2 separate regions of the Homo sapiens genome follow, and region 1 is linked to region 2. The links are contacts of gene promoters, found by promoter capture Hi-C in human tissues and cell types (Jung and others, 2019). All regions are on one chromosome and are shown on one strand. Each heading gives the region's core, a stretch centred on a gene start or on the middle of the fragment in contact. The rest is flanking DNA. Distances are from core to core; before and after follow the strand shown.

Evidence for each region. Contacts are between HindIII fragments. The study calls those that stand out against the background at their distance.
Region 1: a contact is called between a fragment that was not itself captured here and the fragment with the promoter of C15orf62 in region 2, in 1 of the 25 tissues and cell types used here (dorsolateral prefrontal cortex).

The regions. Positions count from the first base shown.
Region 1 is chr15:41,316,413-41,319,587 of GRCh38, forward strand. The region is part of intron 3 of OIP5 (Opa interacting protein 5); the gene reads right to left. Among named protein-coding and RNA genes, the nearest start is that of OIP5, 15 kb to the right of the region's middle. The HindIII fragment of the contact is 5,957 bases long and covers 1-3,175 here.
Region 2 is chr15:40,768,650-40,772,126 of GRCh38, forward strand. It overlaps C15orf62 (chromosome 15 open reading frame 62), which reads left to right and starts at 1,331. Exons shown (of 1, transcript NM_001130448.3): 1 at 1,331-3,477. The coding sequence starts at 1,847. The coding sequence ends at 2,374. All of the region lies in intron 10 of DNAJC17 (DnaJ heat shock protein family (Hsp40) member C17), which reads right to left. RefSeq lists enhancers at 1-610, 1,229-1,847, 1,801-1,890, 1,848-2,464. The HindIII fragment of the contact is 9,899 bases long and covers 1-3,477 here.

The DNA of each region.
Region 1 (3,175 bases), core at 172-2,671, 550 kb after region 2:
AACCCATGGTAAAGGACTGGCTGATAAGTTTTATTGTTTAGTCAACCATAACTCAGCTAAAAACATCTATCTAAGCATAAGAAATGAGAAAAAGCGGCCGGGCGCGGTGGCTCATGCCTGTAATCCCAGCACCTTAGGAGGCCAAGGCGGGCGGATCACGAGGTCAAGGAGATCGAGACCATCCTGGCTAACACAGTGAAACCCCGTCTCTACTAAAAATACAAAAAATTAGCCAAGCGTGGTGGTGGGCGCCTGTAGTTCCAGCTACTTGGGAGGCTGAGGCAGGAGAATGGTGTGAACCCAGGGGGTGAAGCTTACAGTGAACCAAGATCACGTCACTGCACTCCAGCCTGGGCGCCACAGCAAGACTCCATCTCAAAAAAAAAAAAAAAAAAAAAGACATGAGAAAAAGGAAACCTTTTAGTTTTATGAAAGGAAAATAAGCTTTTGAGTTAAGACATGCTCAAATCTCAGCTCTTCCACCTCTTTGAGCCCTAGTTTTCTTAAACTATATTAAGAACTCAGTGATATAAGCATAATGCCTACATAAACTAGGTTGTCAATGCTTGTTTTTGTTTTTTAATGGTCAAGGAAAGACTTCTAAGGATGTTTCAGTTTCTTGTAATAAGTAAAAAAGCTTAAGTTAAAAGTGCAATTTATTAGGAAAATAATGAAATAGCCAATGTAATTCATGAGAAAGGATAACCAGTAGGGTAGTTTTTCTGACACTATGAGGCTACATGATCATTATTTTTACTTTTCTCTGTGTCTGCTTCATGTTTTACTGCAGAGAAGACTTCCCTGCAGCTACATGCATCACATGGGAAATAGCTATCCCATACATAGAGCTTTCACTTCCAAACTTCAACACTAGTACTATCTACACGTAACTGGTATTTCTGGGCCCTTGTTTCAAATTCCTAAGGTAGAAAACTGGTTGGCTTAGTTTGGGTCAGGTATCCATTTTTCTTTTTTTTTTTTTTTTTGAGACAGAGTCTCGCTCTGTTGCCAGGCTGGAGTGCAGTGGCGCGATCTTGGTTCACTGCAACCTCTGACTCCCCGGTTCAAGTGATTCTCCTGCCTCAGCCTCCCAAGTAGCTAGGATTACAGGCATGCGCCACCATGCCCAGCTAATTTTTTTTGTATTTTTAGTAGAGACGGGGTTTCCCATGTTGGCCAGGATGATCTCGATCTCCTGACCTCATGATCTGCCCACCTCGGCCTCCCAAAGTACTGGGGTTACAGGCGTGAGCTACCACGCCCAGCACCGTTTTTGGTTTTTAAGAGACAGGGTCTTGCTCTGCTCCCCATGCTAGAATACAGTGACACAATCATAGCTCACTGTAACCTTGAACTCCTGGGCTGTAGCTATCCTCCCACCTTAGCCTCCAGAGTAGCTAGGACTACAGGCATACACCACCATACACAGTTAATATTTTAAATTTTTTGTAGAGACAGAGTCTTGCTATGTTGCCTAGGCTGGTCTCAAACTCCTAAGCTCAAACAATCCTCCAACTCAGCCTTCCAAAGTGCTGAGATTACAGGCATGACCCACCATGCCTGGCCAGGTATTCATTCTTGATCCAGTACCTGGGAGTGGGAATCACACATGATACAAATCACACATGATACAAATATACAAGGCCCCACCTATTAGAGGGAGAGAGAGGCTGGGCACAAACCCAAAAGGTATCTACTGCAACATTATTTTGCAAAAGCTTGCCTTCTAGAATGTTCTTTTTATCTTTTATTTATTTTTATTTTTTCTGAGACAGAGTCTAGCTCTGTCACCCAGGCTGAAGTGCAGTGGCTTGATCTTGGCTCACTGCAACCTCCGCCTCCTGGGTTCAAGCAATTCTTCTGCCTCACCTCCCGAGTAGCTGCGACCACAGGCGTGTGCCACCACACTTGGCTTATTTTCGTATTTTAAATGGAGATGGGGTTCCACCATGTTGGCCAAGCTGGTCTCGAACTCCTGACCTCAGGTGAACCCCCGACCTCAGCCTCCCAAAGTGCTGGGATTACAGGCGTGAGCCACTGCACCCGGCCCATAAGGGAGCAGTTTGAGATGGGAGGCTTCACCATGTTGCCTAGGCTGGTCTCAAACACCAAGATTCAAGTGATCCTCCTGCCTCAGCCTCCTGGGTAGCTAGAATTACAGGCACACACCACCACATCTGGCAACAAGTTTCTTTAATGAAAGAATACCCTCTGAATTTTCCCATGGTATGACTTTTAAGATATGGTATGATAAGACATGGAAGATAATCATAATGTTATAAGATTATATTTTGGTCCCACTGCTTTTTTTTTTTTTTGTCACCCAAAGTGGAATGCAGTGGTATGATCACAGCAAAATGTAACCTTGAACTCCTGGGCTCAGGTGATCCTCCCACCTCAGCCTCCCAAGTAACTGGGACTATAGGGGCACGCCGCCACATCCAGCTAATTTTTTAAAATTTTGTATAAAAAAAAAACAGGAGTCTCACTATATTGCCCATGGAGGTCTTGAACTCCTGCCCTCAAGCAGTCCTCCCACCTTGGCCTCACAAAGCATTGGCATTACAGGCGCGAGCCATCACACCTGGCCCACTGCTATCTTTTTGTCAAAGACAGTGCCTGACTTTAGCATCTTTTTGGTACAAACACTTTGTCTTTTTTCTTTTTTTTTTTTTTGAGACAGAGTCTTGTTCTGTCACCCAGGCTGGAGTGTAGTGGTGCAATCTCAGCTCACTGTGCAACCTCCACCTCTCAGGTTGAAGCAATTCTCTTGCCGCAGCCTCCCAAGTAGCTGGGATTACAGGTGTGCACTAGCATGCCCAGCTACTTTTTTTTTTTTTTCCTTTGGACAGAATCTCACTATGTCTCCCAGGCTGGAGTGCAGTGGCGTGATCTCACAGTGGCGTGATCTCAGCTCACTGCAGCCTCTGCCTCCCAGGTTCCAACAATTCTCGTGCCTCAGCCTCCTGAGTAGCTGGGATTACAGGCGTCTACCACTACACCTGGCTAATTTTTGTATTTTTCGTAGAGATGGGTTTCACCATGTTAGCCAGGCTGGTCTCAAACTCCTGACCTCGAGTGATCCACCGCCTCAGCCTCCTAAAGTGCTGGGATTACAGGCATAAGCCACTGTGCTCAGCCTACTTTGTCTTTCCTGAAAAACCTTTTAAAATTT
Region 2 (3,477 bases), core at 81-2,580:
CTCCTGGAGGGCAGGGCCCATAATCAAAAGAATAATAAACAACCATCTGAATGGGCCAAGGCTGTAGGGTGGAGAAGCAGCTCTACAGCGGGACCTAAGCTGCCAACCCACGCCCTGATAAGGTCTGCGGTGGGAATTAAACCTTTTCCTCCCTCGGTGCCGCTTAGGCTGTGTGATGATCATGTGGTCCCAACAGCTTCTCAGAGAAGTGTGAAGCACACCTGAGTTGGCACAGAAGTGAGCTAGGCCAGGGATTGCAAGATGCGGTGGCCTGCCCGTAGCAGAGAGCTGTGGGGCCCTGATCCGCGGTACCCCGCATGGGGACGCTGTCACAGAGCAAGGCAGGAGGAAAATGTGGTGGTCAGTGACCCGGGGAATAGGAAGGGAGCAGCTAGGGTTGAGATGCCAGGCCCTGGCCAGCAGGTTTGGAGTAAGGGGTGTAGAGAAACAGGAAGTGTTACTCAGCCTGGGTTCCCCTGTTCCTCCCGATGGCTGCACCCCTCCCCTCTCCCCGGCTGCAGCAGTCCCAGCTAGGCCGGACTGCTAAGCCTGGCCCAGAGCACGGCTGACAATTCACGGCAGCCTCCCTGGCCCAGCCTCCTGCAAGAGAAGGAGGACCCCAGAGGAAGCCCGGTAGCCAGAGGGGAAGGGCTGGAGCACAGCCAGGTAGGAGGCAACACGGCCCGGCCTTCAGCAGCCGCTCTCCTGGCAGGAGCCCTCTAGGGTAAAACAAGGGAGGACAAGGAAATAGCAGCCAGGCTGATGGCAGGCCAAGAGGAGGCCACATCTCCCATCCCCAGGTTAATGCTGCTCTGCCAAGAAAACTTGGAGCCACCCTTGGCGGGCCCCCAGCCCAACCCTGGGCAGCAGAGCCCGCCCATCACAGGCATGGCGCTGCTCCCCATTAACACACCCTCTGCCCCCCTTCCTGTTCCTGCTCGTGAGGGCCTGACAGCGGGGCTGAGTCACCCATACCAGCTACAGGTCTCTTCCTTCCCCAACAATCGTTCCACACGCCTGCCTTTCAATTAACTCCCACCCGCCCCGAACTCTTCCTACCCAGACACTGTGGGCAGGGAGCCAGGCGCACCTGCTGGGGGCCCAGGGTGGTGGGGCTGTGATCAGAAAGGAAGCCGCGTGGTGACACATAAAGCAGGGCTGCCCCCACACGAGTCCCCAGAGGAATCTTAAGCTCCCCATTGCCCTGGGGTGTTGGTCCCAGCTGCCCCATCCCTGCACGCGGATGCTGCAATTACCCAAGAGCACGAAACCTGGCTTCCCACCTGACTGAGTCAGCTGAGAACAAAAACACATCTCCACCGCCACAAACAGCCAGGCCACTCATCAGAGTCCGGGAGCCACTGGCAGAGAGGGCACGGCCCCACACTGCCCCAGAGACATATAGGAGCCAGGCAAACACCAGGGCGAGTGAGCTCGGGCCATCTGCTGCCTGCCTGTGGAAGGAGCGCTCGCCAGCCTCACCCAGCCCGAGAAGGTCCACCTCTGCCTCCGCCGGAGCTGCCCTCATTCTGGCTCCAGTAAGTGCTGCTTCTTCCTCCTGGGTTTTTTTCCACTACCCTATTCAGTAACCAGGCCACTCCTGTCCCTGTGGGAAACTCTTGCTGCCAGGAACTCCCAGCTGTCTGCTCTCCTGGGCAAAAAAGTTCCTTCTTCCTGAGCCCTCCTCTCACCATCCAAGATGTGGTCAAAGGTCTGTGCTGAGTGGAAACCCTGAGGCCTCTGCTCCTAGGGGAGCCTCCCCAGCTGCTGGCACTCACTGCCCCAGCAGGGACCACATGCACCCTGGCTGCTCCTGAACACCTGTCTGCTGGCTCCCCTGGGCCCCATGGAGACCTGGCGGAAAGGCTCCTTCCGCAACGCCTCCTTCTTCAAGCAGCTGAGCCTGGGGCGGCCACGGCGGCTCCGGCGACAGAGTAGTGTGCTTAGCCAGGCCAGCACAGCAGGTGGGGACCACGAGGAGTACAGCAACCGAGAAGTCATCCGGGAGCTACAAGGGAGGCCAGATGGCCGGCGCCTGCCACTGTGGGGGGACGAGCAGCCCCGGGCCACCCTGCTGGCCCCACCCAAGCCCCCACGCCTCTACCGAGAGAGCTCAAGCTGCCCCAACATCCTGGAGCCCCCACCTGCCTACACAGCAGCCTACTCTGCCACCCTGCCATCGGCGCTCTCTCTGTCGAGTGCCCTCCACCAGCACTCAGAGAAGGGCCTTGTGGACACTCCCTGCTTCCAGAGGACACCTACCCCAGACCTCAGTGATCCCTTCCTCTCCTTCAAAGTGGACCTGGGGATTTCACTTCTTGAGGAAGTTCTGCAGATGCTAAGGGAGCAGTTTCCTAGCGAGCCCAGCTTCTAAATGGGGTGAGGGTGGGCAAAGCCGGGGTGACTGGAAGATCCAGAGGCTGGGGATTAAGGAAAGGACAGGGACAGGACTCCAGGCCCATCGCTGGAGGGTTCAGGCAGGCAGAGCTTCTTCATCCTGGGGGAGGATTCCAGGATAGGAATCCAGGGCTCTGCCTGCTCTCTGGGTCCTGGACAGTCCTTCCAGGCACCCCAGAGTGGAGGGACAGAGGCAATCTGGAAATGTTGGGGGGGCGGCCCTTCCTGGCAGGACCCTGAAGAAAGCTGGCTATGCCGGGAAAGGGAGGCTGTGCCGGGAAAGGGAGGCTCTGTGCGGCACTACAGGAACCAGGTAGAGGCTGGCAGAGCCAGAAGGTGGCACGGGGTCAGATCAGGGAGTGGGAGGACACAGACTGAGCAGAAGAGATGAGTGCCCCATGCCAGCCTCTTTGGAAGCCACTGTCAACAGAGAGAGGTCACAGGACAAGCTTGGGTAAAGGCAGTCCAACCCAGGCAGAAGAGGAAAGTGGGAAGGCCCAGGAAGAAAGGGGAGAAGGCCTGACCCTGTCTAATCTGGTGGCCACTCACTGCATGACACTGAATTGAAATAAATAAAATTAACAGTTCAGTTCCTCAGCTGCACCGTTATTCCAGATTCCACATTCCAAATGCCCGGTGGCCACACATGATTAATGGCTACCACACTGGTCAGTGCAGAATGGACGTAAACATCGCTGCACAAAGTTCTAATGGACAGCGCTGTCTAGACCATGGCCTGGAGCCACCAGCAAAGGGGAGGCGCATACAGGGGCTGGCCACATAGGAAGAGATAGGTAGAGATAGAGTATAACTCAGGAAAAAGACCAGGCAAATCCTTAGCAGAAATGAGGACGTGGCTCAGTCTGCCAACACAGCTACCCGGAGCAATCCCTGGTGAAGGAAGGCAGCTCTAGAGAATGCCAGCCACAGGCACGCGCACGGCTTGCAAAGGGGTACTTTGGGGAATTCCCAGAATTACTAGTGATGGGAGCCCTGGCAGGTTTCCTTCCTCGAAGAGAGGAGAACTGGATCCAGGGATGGGCATTCAACAGCGAAGCGGCACAGCTGGTTTCCAGAACC